7 separate regions of the Homo sapiens genome follow, and regions 1, 3, 4, 5, 6 and 7 are each linked to region 2. The links are contacts of gene promoters, found by promoter capture Hi-C in blood cells and fetal thymus (Javierre and others, 2016). All regions are on one chromosome and are shown on one strand. Each heading gives the region's core, a stretch centred on a gene start or on the middle of the fragment in contact. The rest is flanking DNA. Distances are from core to core; before and after follow the strand shown.

Evidence for each region. The method cuts DNA at HindIII sites, captures the fragments that hold promoters and counts their contacts. A CHiCAGO score of 5 or more calls a contact.
Region 1: a fragment that was not itself captured here is called in contact with the fragment with the promoter of FNIP2 in region 2 in 2 of 17 cell types (erythroblasts and M2 macrophages); the score reaches 7.1 in erythroblasts.
Region 3: a fragment that was not itself captured here is called in contact with the fragment with the promoter of FNIP2 in region 2 in 14 of 17 cell types (fetal thymus, activated CD4 T cells, naive CD8 T cells and 11 more); the score reaches 13.8 in fetal thymus.
Region 4: a contact is called between a fragment that was not itself captured here and the fragment with the promoter of FNIP2 in region 2, in 1 of 17 cell types (erythroblasts). The highest score is 6.4, in erythroblasts.
Region 5: a fragment that was not itself captured here is called in contact with the fragment with the promoter of FNIP2 in region 2 in 17 of 17 cell types (naive CD4 T cells, activated CD4 T cells, non-activated CD4 T cells and 14 more); the score reaches 24.8 in naive CD4 T cells.
Region 6: a fragment that was not itself captured here is called in contact with the fragment with the promoter of FNIP2 in region 2 in 7 of 17 cell types (M2 macrophages, erythroblasts, M1 macrophages and 4 more); the score reaches 8.8 in M2 macrophages.
Region 7: a fragment that was not itself captured here is called in contact with the fragment with the promoter of FNIP2 in region 2 in 14 of 17 cell types (total B cells, naive CD4 T cells, fetal thymus and 11 more); the score reaches 15.7 in total B cells.

The regions. Positions count from the first base shown.
Region 1 is chr4:159,276,769-159,279,606 of GRCh38, reverse strand. All of the region lies in intron 7 of RAPGEF2 (Rap guanine nucleotide exchange factor 2), which reads right to left. Among named protein-coding and RNA genes, the nearest start is that of MIR3688-1, 150 kb to the right of the region's middle. The HindIII fragment of the contact is 7,495 bases long and covers 1-2,838 here.
Region 2 is chr4:158,767,690-158,770,860 of GRCh38, reverse strand. FNIP2 (folliculin interacting protein 2) reads right to left here and starts at 1,835. Exons shown (of 17, transcript NM_020840.3): 1 at 1,542-1,835. The coding sequence starts at 1,648. RefSeq lists an enhancer at 1,190-1,927 and a silencer at 1,885-2,094. The HindIII fragment of the contact is 6,862 bases long and covers 1-3,171 here.
Region 3 is chr4:159,204,249-159,207,004 of GRCh38, reverse strand. All of the region lies in intron 3 of RAPGEF2 (Rap guanine nucleotide exchange factor 2), which reads right to left. Among named protein-coding and RNA genes, the nearest start is that of MIR3688-1, 77 kb to the right of the region's middle. The HindIII fragment of the contact is 1,406 bases long and covers 640-2,045 here.
Region 4 is chr4:159,221,536-159,224,555 of GRCh38, reverse strand. The region is part of intron 4 of RAPGEF2 (Rap guanine nucleotide exchange factor 2); the gene reads right to left. Among named protein-coding and RNA genes, the nearest start is that of MIR3688-1, 94 kb to the right of the region's middle. The HindIII fragment of the contact is 8,955 bases long and covers 1-3,020 here.
Region 5 is chr4:159,178,090-159,181,161 of GRCh38, reverse strand. The region is part of intron 1 of RAPGEF2 (Rap guanine nucleotide exchange factor 2); the gene reads right to left. Among named protein-coding and RNA genes, the nearest start is that of MIR3688-1, 51 kb to the right of the region's middle. The HindIII fragment of the contact is 1,224 bases long and covers 946-2,169 here.
Region 6 is chr4:159,238,955-159,241,811 of GRCh38, reverse strand. RAPGEF2 (Rap guanine nucleotide exchange factor 2) reads right to left here. Exons shown (of 30, transcript NM_001394067.2): 6 at 444-611. Among named protein-coding and RNA genes, the nearest start is that of MIR3688-1, 110 kb to the right of the region's middle. The HindIII fragment of the contact is 1,639 bases long and covers 571-2,209 here.
Region 7 is chr4:159,157,654-159,160,801 of GRCh38, reverse strand. All of the region lies in intron 1 of RAPGEF2 (Rap guanine nucleotide exchange factor 2), which reads right to left. Among named protein-coding and RNA genes, the nearest start is that of MIR3688-1, 30 kb to the right of the region's middle. The HindIII fragment of the contact is 913 bases long and covers 847-1,759 here.

The DNA.
Region 1 (2,838 bases), core at 204-2,703, 510 kb before region 2:
GGCTAAGACTGAGGAACAATAAAATATACTGCTTTTATTTCCATTGAGATCAAGGTAAAGTTACTCTACATTTTATGTCAGGGATGGTAGCAGTTACGACATGGCACTTATGAAAGCCCTTTGAAACTTACTTGAAAGAAAATCACTTCTAAATGTTGAGGGAGGAATAAACTGTTCGAGGACTTTCTGATTAGAATTATAATCCACAGGACACACTGAAAACAAAAGGAATTGTCCATCCTTTAACCTATGTACAAAGGAAGGTGTTTCATGCAGCTTCCCCAAATAGACCTGTGCGTGCGCATGCATCTGCACGTACAAGAAAAACCTGCCAATGGCTCCACCAGGCGTTAGCTTGTGACTGTGAGAAAGTTACTTTACCTCTCTATGTCCTGATTTCTTTAGTATGTGGAGGCAGCACTCTTACATTATTGTGAGGATTCAATGAGATCATAAATGAAGAGTTTCGAACACTGCCTGGAACAAAGGGAGCCTTCCATTTTAACTAATGATATCATTACTGTTGTTTTTTCACTCTAATAATGAACTAGTAAAAAGAAGGTTGCTGCTGAGTATGGAACCGTAGGGGATGGAAAAGGCAAACCAACTTAAGGACAGTCACCTAAAGGAAAGGGAAACATCAAGTGTACTCAAGTGTACTGTCTCTGCCTCACGTGTGTAACAGGTTTAATTTTCCTTACCTCCTGGATAGTGTGGATAAAAACTTCCTACAAAAATATAAGAATTGTATTTATGGGTTGTGTATTATTCTAAGTACTTTATAGGTTTTACCTCATTTAATCTTCACACAACCGTATTACCTCCATTTTACAAATGAAGATTCCATGTTAAAAGACCACACAGCCAGGGTCACACAGCGAATGAGTGATGAAGCCAGATTGTAAATCCAAGTTACTGGTTCTGGAGTTTTCTGACCACAATGCTACAGCTCTTACTAATCCCTTCTCTTTACGTAACTTTCTTCACAAAGGTCACAACTGGCCAGATTATAGTTTTCATAATCACATGTACTAACTATTTCCTAACTTGGGTTATTTTTATAGATGGGTTACTAGCAGCAGTTTCACTTCTAAGTCAGATTCCCGCCTTCCACCCACTGCTAAATTTCGAGAGCTCCTGTGGAACCCTGAGTAGTTATTTCAATATATTTCAGTACTCAGGTTCCTTAGGGGTAGGAATGATAAAATCATATAAATTATAAGAGTAGAGTATTTAAACCAATGTGGGAGCAGGTCATCTTCAACCCCATTCTATCCTGGGTTTCTTCAAACCCTGTGTTCTAGGACTTCCAGATGACTCTGATGTGCCCTCAGAAATAATACCACACATCTACAACCATCTAATCTTTGACAAACCTGACAAAAACAAGAAATGGAGAAAGAATTCCCTATTTAACAGATGGTACTGGGAAAACTGGCTAACCATATGTAGAAAACTGAAACTGGATCCCTTCCTTACACCTTATACAAAAATTAATTGGAGATGGATTAAAGACTTAAATGTTAGACCTAAAACTATAAAAACCCTAGAAGAAAACCTAGGCAATACCATTCAGGACATAGGCATCGGCAAGGACTTCATGACTAAAACACCAAAAGCAATGGCAACAAAAGCAAAAATTGACAAATGGGATCTAATTAAACAAATGGGATCTAATTAAACTAACGAGCTTCTGCACAGCAAAAGAAACTACCATCAGAGTGAACAGGCAACCTACAGAACGGGAGAAAATTTTTGCAATCTATCCATCTGACAAAGGGCTAATATCCAGAATCTACAAAGAACTAAACAAATTTACAAGAAAAAATCAAACAACCCCATAAAAAAGCGGGCAAAGGATATGAACAGACACTTCACAAAAGAAGACATTTATGCAGCCAACAGATATGTGAAAAAATGCTCACCATCACTGGCCATCAGAGAAACACAAATCAAAACCACAATGAGATACCATCTTACGCCAGTTAGAATGGCAATCATTAAAAAGTCAGGAAACAACAGGTGCTGGAGAGGATGTGGAGAAACAGGAACACTTTTACACTGTTGGTGGGACTGTAAACTAGTTCAACCATTGTGGAAGTCAGTGTGGCGATTCCTCAGGGATCCAGAACTAGAAATACCATTTGAGCCAGCAATCCCATTACTGGGTATATACCCAAAGGATTATAAATCATATGCTGCTATAAAGACACATGCACACGTATGTTAATTGTGGCACTACTCACAATAGCAAAGACTTGGAACCAACCCAAATGTCCATCAATGATAGACTGGATTAAGAAAATGTGGCACATATACACCATGGAATACTATGTAGCCATAAAAAATGATGAGTTCATGTCCTTTGTAGGGACATGGATGAAGCTGGAAACCATCATTCTCAGCAAACTATCACAAGGACAGAAAACCAAACACTGCATGTTCTCACTCATAGGTGGGAATTGAACAATGAGAACACTTGGACACAGGATAGGGAACATCACACAACTGGGCCTGTAGTGGGGTAGGGGGAGGGGGGAGGGATAGCATTAGGAGATATACCTAATGTAAATGATGAGTTAATGGGTGCAGCACACCAATATGACACATGTATACATATGTAACAAACCTGCACGTTGTGCACATGTACACTACAACTTAAAGTATAATAATAATTAAAAAAAGATAGTCCCTAACTAGTCTTGCTCTGAGAAACAGCTAGAAGACATTTTAAAGTTATCCATATTTCCTTTTTTTTTTGAAAAAACTTCTTAATATCACTACTAATGAACTTTTGTGAGGATGTTCAACAGACATGCTTTAATTCTCATTTACATC
Region 2 (3,171 bases), core at 586-3,085:
ATGTCCTTGGCAAGAGCTGTCAAAGTACAGACACCTGTAACATGCTCCTTCCGCTCCAGGCTTTGTACCCCTGATGGAGTCTGGGTTACAGGGAGGGAAGGGACGAAATTACACACCTTAGGTCCGAAGTAATTCTACCATTCTGAGAAGGTACATGGCATCACTAATACTCAGCCTAACAAAAGGCATAGAATTCCCACTCAAATTATAAGGCTTGTTAGCCTAAAGAAAACATGAGAATTTAACTTGGGGAGTTTAAGGTCCTCACAATATGCCTTCCATGAGCGCGCGTGCACACACACACACACGTTTAATTTTCACATGACCACAGTGAGAGACTGTTTTAAATGATGGAATTCAAGAAAAGCAAAATCTAGAACATAAAACTTAATCCAGAATTTATTTCAAAGTTTCACTTGAAACTTTTAAAGGTTTATTATACTGGGTCTAGATCTGTTTAACAGTGAACTGTTTTTGCAAGACATTTTGGCCAAAAAGCACCTAGCATAGTGTCAGAATTGGGAGTTGGTGCTCAATTTTAAAATGTGTTGAAAAATTGTTAAATAAACTTCTCAACATACCTGTGCTCAAAGGCAATATAGGACATTTTAAGGCGTCTTTTAAAAGTTAGCCCTTGAAATCAGAATAGCATAGGGATTTTAAAGACTGGAATCTGTGGTCAAACTGCTTGGGTCAAAACACAGGCTCTACCACTGACAGCTGGATTTTGGGCAAGCCGCCTAAGTTATCTGTGACTTTAAGTTTCCTCACCTGTAAAATGGGAATTATAATAGCACCCACCTCACCGCATTGTCAGAAAAGTAAACGACAGAAATCAACATAAAGCATTTTAGGTAGTAAGCTCTCCATAAATGCTATCAATATTCAAAGGTATGTGTTCGAGAGATCAAATCTATTAAATATACATATCAGCTTTGATCAATTGAAATCTCGGAAATTTCATAATTGCATCTTACTCCCCCTTTCCACACATCATGCGGCATCAACCTTCCACATGATGTGGAAATTACATACTTTCATTCATCCGTTTGAGAGCTTGTCATATATGGCAAGAAAGAAGAAAGATGCCTTTTTCGTGACTGTTGCTCCTTCAGAACTTCAAAACACTGTCACGTACACAATAGGTTGGAGCTGCCCTCAAAATGACAGCTCACAGCTTTGCTGGGCCCGCAGAGGTGCCCAGGCGGCTCTGCCCGGAAGGGGTTCACCCCAATAACCGGAGAATCTCCGGTCGCCACAGCCAAGCACAGCGCACGCCCGGGAACCCCAAGGAACACAAGAGAACTCTGAAATGGGGAAGGACCCTGAGTTGTGGAGAAAGAGCGGGAGGAAGGGTCACGGAGGGTCCGGAGCCACACTCGGATCAGGCGCGTCCACGCTGACAAGCCCGGGACCAGGTGCCGGCGATAGGCAGCGCCGTCCTGGACAGTCCCTTCCCTTTCCCCTACCCGTCCCCTCCCCGGCGAGCACCGAAGCCAACTCGGGTCCCGCGCCAGAATTGCCCCCCGGCGCCCCCTCACCTAAAGGCGGGTCCTTCCTTAGGAGCCCTGCCCTGGGCAGACGCCGCCGCGGAGCTGCCGCTGCTGCCCCTTTTGTTGAAGAGCTTCTGGAGCAGGGTCGGGGCCATGATGCCGCCGCCGCAGCTCCGGCCGTGGCGCTCGGGGGGCCGGCGGCTCAGCGCGCAGCCGGGGGCGGCGGCCGCGGTGGCGGGGCCATCGCGGCGGCGCGGCCGCCCAGCCTTGCGGGAGCGCGGGGCCGCTGCGACTGAGTAACTCTGCTCGGCGCCGGAGCCGCCGGCTGCCGGTCATATGACTGAGCCGGCCCGCCACCGCCTCGCGCGCTGACAGTTATCTCCTGCGGGAGGAGCCCGCAGCCCCACGGCGGCGGCGGCGGCGCGGGAGGAGCGCGGCGGCCCCGGCGGCGGCCATTGGCCCGGCGGCCGCCCGCCCCGGGCTCACGTAACCCCGGCGGGAGGCGGGAGGTGGGAGGTGCGGCCAGGAGCGGGCGGGCGGCCCAGTACTCCGGGCACGCGGGGGACGCGGACGGGGGCAGGCGCGGCACTTAAAGGGGCCCGAGGGGCGAGGGCGGCCGCCGGGGCGCAGCTCCGCGAGTGGCGTGGGGTTCCCACGGAGCCTGGGTTCTTTCGCACAGCGAGCATGCAGCTAGGCCGATCTTTGTTCTTTAGAGACAAAGCCCCTGAACTTGGGTCCTCGCTTTGTTCAGGTACAAGAGCCCGTTCACAGAAGGCGTATGCTAGGGGGGAAGGCTTGGTACGCGCGGTGGCCGCTTCGGTGGGCTGTGATTTGAATCACATAGCACCCAAGGTTTTGTCAGGTTTCCTCCATGTCCAAATTCGATTCCTCCAGGCTTTCACAAAATTTAAACTGTTTATCCAAATCATTTGTTCTGTTTGGCGTCTTGGGCCACCATACCATGGTTATATAAGAAGTTGCATTTGAAATATTAAGTCCCCCCTTTAAAACATACACACACACACACACACACACACACACACACACACACAGAACTCACTACATAGATTTAGAAACTTAAGATATTTTATAGCAAGGGATTGTTTTTCCTAATACATATTTAACAGTCAATCAAGGCATATCAGCAGCAGATATTTGGTTTGAGGAAGGGAGGAGTTCATGTGTTTGAGTCCGCTTTCCTGCCCTGTCCCACCCCAGTCCCCTTTGGAATTTAATCCTTGGTGGTGCAGGGCTCTAAACAGCCAGTGTAGGACACGTTACCAGACTCAAAGCAACTTCTTAATCTATGTTTTAGAGCGTTGGGCTTCACGAATTTTTCCGATGATGGGAAATAGAGATAAAGTTAGTAAGACCCCAACCATGCCTCTTCTAGCTTCTCCATGAGTAGTGAACAGTGACTCACCTGGGCTCTCTTACACTTGTTGAGAGGAGGACTCTTGGAGACTCAAAAAGGAAAATATATTTCCAAAAACATAAGTAATCAAAAGAACCTATTCTGGGCCTATTTTACTTTGCATTTTCTTTTTTTAATTGTGTTAGTTTCTGGACTTGGTTGGGAACTAGCTGTGAATAATGTGCTGAAATTTCACAAAGGTAAGAGAAAGGTGGTAGAAATGGAAACTTAGTCATTTGTTTCCTTCGGACTTTTACTGTTAAA
Region 3 (2,756 bases), core at 93-2,592, 440 kb before region 2:
TATCCCTTCTAAGGATTCAGATTTTGGAAAAGTAAGTTAATTAAAAGTAAGAATACATAGTTAAGAAATGTAAGAATACAAAAAACAGTGACTCTTATTTTACAGATGTTCTGGAAATAGTTGTAAGCTAGAAAAACCCCTCTCCTCTCCTCCTATCCATCCCCCATAGAATTCATGTTTAGTTCCTGTTATGAAAATTCCTTGCTGAGGTGTCAGCATCGAAATATGTTTTATTTAGTCTTACTAGTCTAGAAAATTCCCCTTACTTTATTAGAAAGCACTGAACTAACCACGCTTACTCTTTTCACTTACAATCATGCCTCAGGCAGGCAGAGTTTCCGTGTGGGGTACAACGTGCTTCCCTTCAAGGTCTGCAAACACTTCCTTTCCACAGTGCAGCTAGCTGTCACTGGAGGGTTTTTACATGTGTATGTAAAAATGGGAAAGTGATGGTTTTTTTAAGAAAAATGAAACTGAAATTATGAAAATAGTACTTAGTAGTAGCAGCAGCAAATTGTTCAGTACTTAAAGGATATGCAAATTGAGACCTCACTTCCAGGCAATGAAGCTGGTTAAGAGAAGACTGACAATAATAATAATAGTACAGACGGTGCCCAACTTCCAATGGTCTGACAAGCTTTTTTGTCTTTACGACACACTCAACTTCCAGCACCACAACGATTCTGCTTTTCATTTTCAATAGAATATCCAATAAATTACATGAGGTACTCAACAGTTTGTTATAATATAGGCTTTGTGTTAAAAGATCCTGCGCGGCTGGGCGCGGTGGCTCATGCCTGTCATCCCAGCACTTCGGAAGGCAGAGGTGGGTGGATCACGAGGTCAGGAGATCGAGACCATCCTGGCTAACACGGTGAAACCCCGTCTTTACTAAAAATGCAAAAAAAATTAGCCGGGCATGGTGGCGGTGCCAGTAGTCCCAGCTACTCGGGAGGCTGAGGCAGGAGAATGGCGTGAACCCGGGAGGCGGAGCTTGCAGTGAGGCCAAGATTGCACCACTGCACTCCAGCCTGGGTGACAGGGCGACACTCTGTCTCAAAAAAAAAAAAAGATCCTGCCCAACTGTAGGCTAATGTAAGTGTTCTGAGCATGTTTACAGTAGCCTAAGTGTATGTGTCGGTTCTCACACTGCTATAAAGAACTACCTGGGACTGGGTAACTTGAAAAGAGGTTTAACTGGCTCACAGTTCCGCAGGCTGTACAGGAAGCATGACTGGGGACACCTCAGGAAACTTACAATCATGGGGGAAGGCGAAGGGGAAGCAAGCATGTTTTACCATGGTGGAGCAGAAAAGAAAGCAAAGAGGGAAGTGCTACACATGTTTAAACCACCAGATCTCATGAACACTCATCCACTATCATGAGAACAGCATAGGGGAAATCTGCCCCCATGATCCAATCACCTCCCACTAGGTCCCTCCCCCAATGGCACAACAATTTGACATGAGATTTGGGTGGGGACACAGAGCCTAACCATATCATTAGGCTAAGCAATGATGTTCAGTAGGCTAGGTACGTTAACTGCATTTTGACTTAGGATGTTTTCAACATATAGTGGGTTTATTGGGATGTAACCACATTGTAAGACAAGAAGTAAGTGTAGTGGTAGTAATAATAATAAATATCTAAGACTAACACTGAGATTCTATTCTATCTAGTAGTTCTCAGGCCCTGATGTGCAAATGAATCACCTAAGATGTTAATTTAAAATGCATCTATCCCACCCAATTCCCCAGTTTCTGATCATTAGATAGGAGATCCATCAAAGTGACTTTTAAACAAATATCCTGGATGTTTCTTACACATGGGGCTGGCCAACTCTGAAAAACTTTCAGAAAAAATGGTCTCAATATGAACTCCCAAGAGGAACAAATGGCAGGAAAAAAAGTACAACTCTATTAATATCCATGCAACTAGGTACATACATTGTATTAATCAGTGCTATTTTAATTTTTCCTCAAATAATTTTTTTTTAAAATTATGAGCAAAGGAGCCCCTTCAAGTGTTGCTGAAATGCCAAAGCTTAATCCTGAAAGAACCCTGACTGAGGATTTCCAAATAACCTGACACTACCAGTACTGGGCAAAAAACAGAAATCTGAAGACTAAAGAGGTTCGTATAGGAAAGCAGTACTTGCGAGTCTCTCTAATCAGGGGAATTCACGCTTACAGAAGACCAAATCCTTCTTAGAATCTCAGAATTTGACCACAGGATCTTGAGCTAGGAACCACAATGGACAACTGATTTCATTTCAATACATCTCATCCCACAATGGACAAAACGGAAGTCACAAAAGCCCTGGTTTATAACGAGAAACTCTAAAAGGCTCCTGTTTCTGTTTTTCATCAACAGGAAGGAAATTAACGAGGCCAAACAAAACCAAATACAGACCATTATAAAATGATCAGTTCACCTTCCAATGTAAACAGATAGAAAGCCTCTGGGGCAATCAGAACTGTATGATCCCCGCTGAGCATTATCCCAAGTCTAAACAAAGAATAATGGGCATGAGGGAAATACTTGATCTGACCCCCTCACCTCTCCCACCTTCCTTCCTACTACCCCTCAACATAACCTGCTGCTCCTGACAGGCTGCTTTCCTTCTGTTCATTCCAACTCTGCCATGCTGTTCAAGATGTTTACCTCTCTCCATCTACCCTCTACATCCCACTGTACCTTAAGAGATGGCTCAAAAACTACTACTTTAAGAAAATCTTCTCACTCACTGTTTTCCA
Region 4 (3,020 bases), core at 402-2,901, 450 kb before region 2:
TTGCCCATCCTAAGCCAGGCAAATCTAATAACTGCCTGGTTTGAAAATCTCTACCTTGGGCAATTACTTTGAAAGTCTTGCCCCATGTCATCTTCAAACCATCTTTATTGCCTAACACAAAGACTCTAAAGTCTTTTCTATATACTGTCCCACAAGCACGTTCTTAGAAAAATTAAAATTCATGCTTCTTGGGCTTGAGTGGTAATCAAGCAGCTCTTCTCTACTATATTTGAAAGACTAAAATTACTTTATGTTCTGACATAGATAATCAATGAAAAAAATCTGTTTCAGCCACAATGATGCTTTCAAACACAAAATTTCCTATACATAAGGGATTTTAGAAGTTCACTTAAATGGGGTCAGGCGTGGTAGTTCATGCCTGTAATCCCAGCACTTTGGGAGGCCAAGGCAGGCGGACCACTTCAGGCTAGGAGTTCAAGACCAGCCTGGCCAACATGGCAAAACCCCATCTTTACAAAAAATACAAAAATTAGTCGGGAGTGGTGGCACATGACCGTAATTCCAGCTACTCAGGAGGCCGAGGCACAAGAATCACTTGAGCCTGAGAGGTGGAGGTTGCAGTGAGACAAGATCACACCACTGCACTCCAGGCTGGGTGGCAGAGCGAGACTCTGTCTCAAAAAAAAAAAAAGTTCACTTAAATGGGATAATGGCTATAAAATCTGGAATATCTTATTCAAAGCCAACTCTTTAGTTGTGTTCCCAAAATTATGTAAGTTAAAATTCAAGATAAGATGAAAAGAGGTAAACAGAAATGGTCTCACGATTCTGAGTAATAACTAAATTATTATCTTGGACTATATCCATCATGGCAAGAAGAGAGGCAAACATATATGTCTCTGATACGTATACGCTAGAGTATATACACGTTCATCCTAAAATGTATCTGATTTAGCCTAATGAAATGGAATTTCTTAACTTGAGGTTTTTCTGTGTGTAAAACTGAATTAAGTCTGCCTAATGACTGTTTTCTAAATTTACCCTAATGAACCATAAAATAATAATAAAACACAACAATGTGTTTGACAAATTTTAACCATTGCCCTCATTTTTAAAACTATCTGAAAATGTTTAATTAATAGCAAAGTTATCTTAAGGAAATTACACTTACATTCTAAGCAATTTCTAGTTGTAAAACATGAAAAGGTAAGCCATCAAGAAAAGATAAGATTATCTTGAAATATCTGACTCAATAAAGTAGATAGAAGTATAACTAAGAAAACAGTGATTTAATGTTCGTGTAGCTCTCTAAATACACGAACACTAGATAGCAGAAATTCTATTTTCTATTTAATAGCAAAAATATGTAACCCCTATAACGCCGTAAGAAACATCTAAGACAGTATTTTAAATATTTTGGACTCACAATTCAAAATACTAATTGGTAATAAAAAATAACTGCAGATCCTTTTAAAAACCACATGACATTTAAATTCTTACACTTAAAAAAGCAATAATATAAATATCTAAGCTATTCCTTCACTATTATTTCAACGAGTACTGTCAAACAGCTTACAATACATGGAAAAAATTAAGTGGGTACATAATACAGAATAAAGTCACCTTCAACATTTCAAAATATGATTTTCTTGTCTTCAAATATATATATATATATATAATTCAACTCATAATAAAAGTGTCCCTGAACTATGATTAATTGGACATTTTTATCTTAATAATGACATTCCAATTTCCCAGAGTATAATTTCCTTCACATATCAATCCTTCTTTTAACCATATTCTTACTCTTGTTATTTTCTGTTAGCGACCCCAATACAGAGAGTACACTTTCTTAAACAAAAACAAATTTAGCTGCTATGTTATTTTAAGATACACCCTGAATTCATACAAGTGAAACAGTAACTCACACATCCCTCTATCCCTTCTCCAAAAACAACCGGGGCACAGACAAGAGTTATGAGTTCCTTAGCACTTAGCAGTGGGTAACCAACTGAAACATTTTCCAGAGAAAAACAATACTGTGTTTCATTGACACAAACATCAGACTCTAAAATCTTTATGAAATATAGCATTATTTATTTCTTCAAGAGAAATATAAACATCACTGCAACCAGGACTTCTGGGATGAACTATCACACACTCATTTATAGCAAGGATCACAAACAATGCCCTAACTGAACACGTGAAGCACCAGGTGACCTGTGGAACTCCATCAACTATACACACAAAAAATATGAGTCCTTCTCTTTACGGCTACTTACTGTGTTAAGACACTACCAATCCCAGTGTTCCAAAGGCCACAGAAGCCTGCATTTATATGTACAGCACATCTGCGATGTTGTAGTTATAGCAACCAAATTCCCAACTTGATCCAGCAATTGAACCCTCTCTCTCTCTAGAGAACAGCTTTGCTCTGTGCATCAGGTATCACATCGGAATATGATGTACAAGAGGAAAGAGGGTTCTAAATGATGCTAAAAATCATGTTAGTGTTCCAGGATGAAGGTATTTCATACTGAAGCAGAAATTATGACTAATATCCGAAGGGGGAATATTTTAATATATACCACTGTGACTATTTACATATTTCACTTTACTTCTTTAGAGACCTACCTTATTTTACATTTAAAGTAGAATATACTTAAAACTAGTGTAGCTAAAGTTTCCCTTCAATATCATCAACTCTAGTTGAACCAAGTTGATATTTGTTTCATCATTTTCTTTGCCTTATTTGGAATTCTCTCCCAGCACTTCCTTAAGATCTTTAAGCCTTTGCCTTATATATGTCACAGGAATACCAGGACTTGAGTCAACTTTCAGTAGGACAAATAGGAATTACAGATGATATAAGAGCTAAAGGAGCGTGGCTAAGCCAATGTAGAATGTAAGCATAGGCAATTAATGCACTCTGAGAGTGAGGGGGAAAACTGAACAGCAGGTGTAACAGAGACCGTGGGTTCCCTGCCCCAATATCCATTTTCCTCTTTCTCCTTAGAAGGATAGTTTTTATATTATTATTTTTAGCAGGGCACATCACG
Region 5 (3,072 bases), core at 308-2,807, 410 kb before region 2:
CTCACTGATCAAGTGGCACTTTATTAATCTGTTGCTTTTCAACATTACGGTGTTTCACAGTTGTATAAGGGCCACGCTCTTATACAAATTACGTCATACACATTATGTGTGTTAGTATGATATACATGGATTTAACAATTTTGAATATGAATGTATACTTTGAATAATAACCATTATTTCTTTATCTTAATTATAACATACAAATTAAATAAGATTGTTGATTAGTTAATAAAAATGTAAAGAATGGAATATTATCACCTATAATTCACTGACATAAGTAAATCAATCAGGAAATTGTTACTGAGCCTGTATCATAAAACTGGGAAATAGACATTACACCTTACTGCATGAACAAACTTAAAAAGCAGTTTTTCTTTCTATATGTACCTGCATAAATAAAACATTCATATCCATATAATCATGATTTTTAGGGGGTACTTTCAAACGTGTCATTATTCAAGCAGTATACAACCAGAAAACCCTGTGTAGTAACTGCTTCATTTTGTATTTTATATATCAAACCAGACTATAAACTTCTTAAATAAATTCAATTACATTCAGGGTTTCTTCTATTGCTCTTACAGTACATCATCCCACATGAAACTTGTTTTAAACGGTCTGTGCCACAAGGAGCCTATAAACTAGGGGAAAAGACTACATTATTCTGCTATTATAGATGCAGTTAGGTGGCTTTACAGATAGACTCCATGTAAACTTGAGACTTCTTAGTTGTATTAACAGGAGTGGCAGGCAACACATAAGTAATGTTTCACTACGTAATATGAACTTGACCAACGTGGATTTGGGTATGTAGGAAAAAAAAGAGAAACTATGGCAAAGACATCAAGAAATCTCTGCTCTCAGACCCCGAAAAATGAAAGAAAGTTTACTAGAGATAAGCAAAAGACATGCAAATTAAAGGAAGAAGCAATCTGTGTTTAAGCTTTTCTTCAATCAGGAGGTCAGCAGCCAAATATTAGTTACCACAGATCGCATAAACAACAAAAAGGAAAACGGAAGACAAGTTTTCTTATCCTTTCCTAAAAGCAAGCGGGACTAAGCAATGTCTTGAAATAGGCACACATTGCCTTTCATTTCTAATCTTCCTATCAATTTTTTCTACCTTCTCACCAGGTGTCGAGACCTCACATTACCCAAGCCCCATATCGGCTCACTATGCCCTGGTCTAAGAATTAAAGGCAGGCAATCTGAACACATTCAATAGGAACCCTTAAAACTTGCACATGAACTGTCTGTCGGCATTTGTACTTCCATAGTCCAAACAAACCTCTAAGTGGTATGAGATTTCAGGCAGCACAACCAAGAGAAATGAAATCTACCAGGAGTTGTAAGGGAGGAGATTTAGGGCATGAAAGGCCACTGCAAAACAATCCAGCTCTGCCCTGCCCAGGAGCTACCCCCACTCCTTTCCTGCCCATAGTGGTCACTCCTATTTCTCCTCCTTCACTTCTCACACAGAAGTTTCAACCTTCATTTCCCCTTAGTTGTTGGCTTTTCTTAAAATAATTAGTTGGCATGGAATTGCCTCTACCAGCAAAAAAACAGAAAGGCAAGTGAGTAAGAATGGGGTGCTGAGAAGTCCCGCTCCTCAAACCAACCTGAAATGTGCAACCATTAGTGAAAACTAAATATGTAGCATCACAGAGCAAGACTTTTCTCTTAAGATGCACAAAGAAATGTATGGCCTTCAGGGAGTTACACTTTTAGATTCTTTTTTTCTCTATGCAAACAAGAAACATTCATAGAAGGAAATTTCAACCAACAACTATAGAAAAATAATGCTGGAGAGTTAAATTACCTAGAGTGTCTCAATTTCCATTTTGGTCAAAAAACTATGACACACAAACTGAAAAATTTCTAACCTTCCCAACTGCACTTCCCAAGACAAATGAAATTCACATGACTACTACTATTTTAAAGGACTCTGAAAAAAAAGTAAGCTATTTTTTCCCCCAAATTCTCTAGTCATTGAGCACAAACAGGAACATGTTGCTTTAACCAGGAAGCAGCATTTTTTAGAACAATAAGTCTTTCGTTTTACCCTAGGAAGGACATCCTTTTTTCAAAATAGATGCTACTTGAAAGTAGACTGAAGTTATAAAACCATGGTAGCACATTGGACAAAGATATTGATAAACCAATAAAGCTTTCCCTTTTTTTGTCCCAAATGTAAACCAGATTCAAAACCCAAAAGCATCCTTTAAGTACTTTAGGGGGGTGATTGTTCACAACCTATCCAAGTCAATCCTCTTGCTCAAAGTCTGTTAACATAATACATGCTAGGTCAGGCGTGGTGGCTCACGCCTGTAATCCCAGCACTTTGGGAAGCCGAGGCGGGTGAATTGCCTGAGGTCAGGAGCTCAAGACCAGCCTGGCTAACATGGAGAAACCCCCGTCTCTACTAAAAATACAAAAACTAGCCGGGCGTGGTAGTGTGCACCTGTAAGCCCAGCTACTTGGGGGGCTGAGGCAGGAGAATCGCTTGAACCCGGGAGGTGGAGGTTGCAGTGAGCTAAAATCGCGCGGCAGCACTCAAGCCTGGGTGACAGAGCGAGACTCCGTCTCAAAAAAAAAAAAAAAAAAAAAAAAGCATAATACATGCTAATGGGAAAGAAGTCAGAGGGAGAGTACCCCACATCCTGGGCTCTCTAATTTCTCCTTAGAGACTCATTCAGAATATATAACGGGCTTCATAGCAAACTTACAATTCACTTACAACTAGCTTTTAGTTTCATTTGTTTGCAGCATCAAGATCTCACTAACAATGTACAGTATGTCGTAATATGATCTTTGGAGAACTGAGAGCAGATTAATATTTCTCCACCTCCTCTCCTGACTGCCTGCCCATACCATATGCTGGTGCAATCCCTCCTATCCTGTATAGACTCTTTGCTGCTTGTACACAACAAAAAATAATGGGGTGGGGGGATTATGTTCCACTGCAGCATGAGAAAAAAGACATATCTTTTTCCTTTAAAAGGGGTTTTGTTTCATATATGAACCTACATATTTAACTGTATTTGGAAGTGGATTGATTCCTTTAAAAAGTCT
Region 6 (2,857 bases), core at 141-2,640, 470 kb before region 2:
CAGTCATTTGGGTTGGGAGTGAAGGGTGGAGTGCACAGGAGGGCGCTAAAATGTTAGATTAAGGTAAAACAACTTAAAATATTCCAATTACAATTACATGTGCTTATCACAAAGCTGATCTTCAGAGAACAACTTAAGAAATAAAGGAGCTAGCAAAGTCTGTTGACATGTTATTTCAATGTCTTTTAAAAACTAATCATATCATGTTTCCCAGAAAAATCTACTCTTTCTATAATAAATGTTTAAATAATATATACATATTATATATTTATTTTTATATTTATTAATATAACAAATAAAAATAAATATTTAAGTATACTTAATGTGTGTGTATATATATATAATTGAAAAGATTTGTCAAAAATGGAAAACTTAAACATCTTTTCACAAAACCCCAACAAAAAACTAGAAATAAATAAAAATATTATACTTGTATAACTTACCGTGTGATAGCCTCTAGGCAAAGGAGGTTTGCCCATGGGATAAGGATCCACAGTGTCAATAATTGTTTGTCTTTCACCTTTCTGGTTGATTTTTCTAAATCTCCTTCGAGACTGTCTATGGGAAGCTTGCCGCTGAAAATATTCTTCATTTTCATCCATATAGTCCACCTGAAATAAAACCCCCCAAAATTTCATTTCTCCAAACACAACATTTCCTATTAATATTAGATACAGAAAGAAACTTACAGATAACCCATATTCAATCATCTTGCAAAGACATCTGTAGAAAACTATCTAGACAAACTTCAAGTGTCTCTGAACTTCTCTGGAACTAACTGGTTTTGAGTAACATTTCTTTTATGAGGAGGCATTTTCAGTTCCACTTAGGACAATATGGGTAACTCTTGAATTTCCTGTAGTTTCAAAGGGAAGGATATTTTCAGCAGTCTTTGTACTGATTTATTAGTGAAAGATCTCACAGGATACATTACCACACATTATGAAAGCAACTGCCACACTGTCTTAAGCAACGTAGAAAAAAGAAAAAAAAAAAAAAAAAAACCCTGATGGAAATCTGTAAAAACTTCCAAATCCTGAATGACTCAAAAACAGTGCTAACAGAATGGCTTTGGTAGGTTACGCAAGGGTTTCTCCTTCTACTTTCATTCCATGACTTCGGTTTCTTTTTTTATAAATAGTGTTGTTTAAAAGTAATTCCTCATTTAAAAAAATTTTAGGCCAGGCACAGTTGCTCACGCCTGTAATCCCAGCACTTTGGGAGGCCGAGGCGGGTGGATCACGAGGTCAGGAGTTCAAGACCAGCCTGGCCAACATGGTGAAACCCCATCTCTGCTAAAGATACAAAAAAGTAGCTGGGTGTGGTGGCACGTGCCTGTAATCCCAGCTACCCGGGAGGCTGAGGCAGGAGAATTGCTTGAACCCAGGAGGTGGAGGTTGCAGTGAGCTGAGATCGCGCCACTGCACTTCAAGCTAGACAACACGACAAGACTCCGTCTCCAAAAAAAAAAAAAAAAAAAGTAGAAATGCTGATGAATGAACAGGGAATAAAAGTTACATTAGGTTATTCCTCATGTGACTTCTCATAATGGAGGCATGTCTAGGTTACAAAACTGTTCTCACACCAGCAAACCTAGTAGTTTGTGTAGTATCAGCAAGTATAAAATACTCAGTTTTAAAGACTAAAAATCCTCCAGAGAAATCTAAAAGTAGCATTAACAGAGGGCAAAATCTCAAGGAAATATCTAAGACTATCTACTGTTGGAAAGTGCTATATATCTGCCTACATTCTTCCCAATCCTAAATCCTTACCATTACTATGCTACTTTCTCACTTGAGTACGTTTTGTAAAACTTTACCAAATATTTTAGTAAATTTTACAAAAAGTTCGCTAGCTTTGATGAGGAAGTTCTCATTTCTGACAGAATTCCTCTCCTACATCATAGGGAAAAACCCTACATCTTCTCTGAAAAGAGACCTAGAATTGTTTACTAAATACTTTACTAAATGTGAATAAAAGTTTCCATCATCATCTTTATTTAGACATCATTTACTTTACAAGATCTTCCTTCCCAGCTAGGGTGCTGGATGGAGACAGTAAGAATATCAACTGAATGTCTAGGCTGGGAAACTCCCCTTCCACCTCATCTTATTTTTGTTACTAAATTTTTTAAAGGGTACATATTATCCTATCTTAAAATCATTCTTATACAGTAAGTAAAAAGTATGACAGGTTTGGTTTTTAAGCTTCAAAGTATGTTGCTAATATCTATTTTAACAATATGTTCTATGTATAATCTCTGTTTATAAATTTTTGTCACAAAATTACATTAAAAAGAGGGAAAAGATGTCAACAGAGTGTTTAACCAGCATAATAATCCCCAAATTTCCTTTTAATAACTTGAAAAAATTCAAGTGATTTTCTTGTGTTTTTTAAAATAGTGTTGTTTAAAAAATAATTCCTCATTTAAAACATCTTAGAAACTCTAATGAATGAATTAACAGTGAACACAAGTTCCATTTGGTTATTCCTCACGATTGCTCACAATGGAGGCATGTTTAGATTCCAAAATTGTTCTCACACCAGCAAACCTAGTGATTGATTTAAAGTAAGTCACTCATTCCAATCAACACTTGGAGAGCTAAAATCCTGCAATCAAGAGATTCTCCCCAAATTTCAATTAAATGGCATTATTATAGATTGAATTACAAAGTACAAAAACCAAACACTTAGCTACTTGTACTTTTTAAATTTTTTTGGCATTTAATTGAATCCTGTAAATAATAAAATATGATTATGAACTCAAATTCATATTAATAAAAAGTTGTGAAATAAATATATCTGTTATAGAAAATATACAATATTTTCTATTCAACAAAAATCTAATATTATAAGC
Region 7 (3,148 bases), core at 54-2,553, 390 kb before region 2:
GAAGAGAAAAAAAAATGATGTACAGGAATAGGTGAATAGAGCATGCACTACAAATTCACTTAAATCAAATCCACTTCCTTTTGGAGTCGTTATTTTAAGGCACAAAGTAACAGATCTTCATCCATATAGTTTGCTACATACAGAAAAAGATATACTGAATATCATGTTAAAGATACATACCTAACTCTGGTCTAAGCTCTGTGCGCAGGCAATGCAGTTAGTTTGAAGTTGACTTTCTTCAAATTGCTACTGAAGTTTGCTATTGAAATAAGTGAAACAAACACTTTCTAGCCATAGTCCCAACACTGCCAACAATATCCATGTTACATGAGTGAGGATTTAAAATCAGAAACAGATGGGTTTGAAGCTTCAGTTCTAGCATTTACTGTGTAATGTATGACCTTAGGCAAAGTATATCAACTGTCCTCATCTGTATAATGTGAGAAAACATGTTCTTCACTGGGTTGGGAGAGAATTAAGTAAGATAAAACAGGCAAAATATAAAGCACAGTGCCTGGCTTTCTGTAAGTATCAGATATTATTAACATTTTATATAAAAGCACAACTATCAGTTGTTGATAGGAAAGAATGGGAATCAGTAAAAGGTACATTTCATAAAATAACTACAATTTTAAATGTGAATAGACATGTGTCTATAGTATACGTAACAGACTAAAGCCTTTGCACAACTAGAAATGTTGAACAAAGATAGCTTCTTGATGAAATAATCTCATTAGACTAAAACAACTATGTAAGTGTCCAATTAATATGAATTCAGCATCACATTTCATACTTAGCTATTAGAGTTTAAATGTGGGTTTTTTTCCATATAGATGAATAAAAGCTTGATTGGAGGGAGATCAATAATACCTGTGTTATAATTGGCTCAATCACATTTTCCCCACAGGATCATCCACCTGATGATCTGAGAACAATAGTATTCCTCCTAAATAAAGAAAAAGGATGCAGCTGCTTCCATCTATAAATAGGATGCTGCTATACGAGTTGAGAACACTATTGTTCACACTGTCAGTTTAAATCACTTCCACATTTCTAATGAAGAGGTCAAGTTGTAGAATTGTTATTATAATCTTGAATGCTGAGAAAAAGTCACTAAAATTTAATTTGCTGTAATATGTGTATGAATAATTTTTCAGTGGTCAGACGATTCTGAAATACTCTTTTTAAGAGACCTCTTGGAACAACACTACACTCAGTTTTCTTGAAAACATCTATAGGTTGATCCCACTATATGTACTTAAATCAAAATAAAAGAATTTTCTTGGAACAACACTACACTCAGTTTTCTTGAAAACATCTATAGGTTGATCCCACTATATGTACTTAAATCAAAATAAAAGAATTTTCTTGGAACAACACTACACTCAGTTTTCTTGAAAACATCTATAGGTTGATCCCACTATATGTACTTAAATCAAAATAAAAGAATTTTCTCCATACAGATTGAAGCAACACATTTTTCCTAAGAGAATAGTGATGTCCAACCATATTTGCCTAACAGTGGAATCTGAGGGTACAACTTGTTGTTTGTAAAATGGAAGGAGGGTGATGCAAAATAAACAGCTGCGTGATCCAGGAAAGGGGCTGAGGGAGACACTGTGGACGGGCGCTGCAAACCACAGAGGTGGCAGAGGAAAACAACTGAGGGAAGTATTTTGGCATCAGACCCAGTCGAAATCCTAACTTTGCTACTTATTGCTGTAAGATTCTGGGACAGTTACTTAAATATCTCTAAGCTTTCATTTCACCATATAAAAATTAAGGATCATACCTACACTTTATAGTGTTGCCGTTAAGACCAAATAAAGTGAGATTATAAAACACTTAAACGCTAGCCCTTATACAGCTACGGCTATTGTTTCAATTTTAAAGAAAAGGGGGATTAGCCAGTCTCCAAAAAACCCAAATAAGAGTGAAACTTGAGTAAGGGCCTCTAGCGAGGTTGTCAATGATAATTTCTGGTTCCTTCAGGTTCCAAGGTCCAACCTGGCAAATAACGCTAGTAAAATTTCACCCTTCTCAGTTGATTCAATTAATATTGAGCAAATTGCATAAATTAAAAAGACTTGGTTTTGTGTGCCAACATACTCTGGATGCTCTCCTGAATAGGTGACTATAGTCATCTCTGAACTTTTTTTTTGTTTGCGACCACCAAGGGTTGCTACTGGTAATTACCTACTTCTCCCTGCCCACAAAGAGAATATTTACACAAAATGTTCAATAAAGGAACTCTGTAAAGGAAAGGTGTTAGCTATTTAAAAGCAGAGAGATTTGGGTAGGAAATTTTTTAATGACCTCTGATAACCTTACAAGTGCTCTCAACAAAGATGGTTTAGGTACTGCCTGTTGGGAGACTGGAGATTAACTAGATAATCTTAAAGTCCTTTTAGACTCAAGACACAAAAAGGAGAGCCAAAGGAAAGGGATATGTCTTCCTTTGCTTTTTGTTCAACTACAATCTACATTTACACCTAAGTAATAATGCTTTCCCACATAAGGAGAACAATGAAAGATAAAGGATCACTGATCTGCATGCAGTTCCTGGAATTTATTGCTGGTTGGGGAGTGAAGTTGAAGGAAATTAAGAGGACTATTGCCTCTTTTTACTTTTGGCAAAAATACAATGCAGGCCCTCTTAAGAATAAAAATCATTAAAACCTTCTAGTTAATATTTATCTCCTTTAAGAAGAAAATATTATAAACTTCTACTATAACTCTGAAATGTCAAATAAAACAAGTATTTTAAACAACCAAAATTAGAAGTACACCCCCAGGCACCATCTGCTAGCCCCACCATAGACATTTACTACACCTGGCTGCTGCCTGTCTCGGTCCCTACCCCAATTCCTCAAAACCCAGCTTCCCTACCTCAACCTTCATGCCACTGCCACTGCCATAGGAAGAAAGGAAAATGAGTGGAATAACTTCAAATACTCAAAGAACTGTCCTAAAAGAAGGACCATTCCTTTCTTAAACCATGACATTCTAGCAGCAGAGATATGTTGGGAGTGTTTTTCAAGGTCCAAATGAGAAAACGGACATTATGATTAACAAGGAAAACCATGGCAATAGAAAGCTGTTGTCTCATAAGGTTTCCCCTTCCCCCTGAAGAACGGACTTGGTGAAG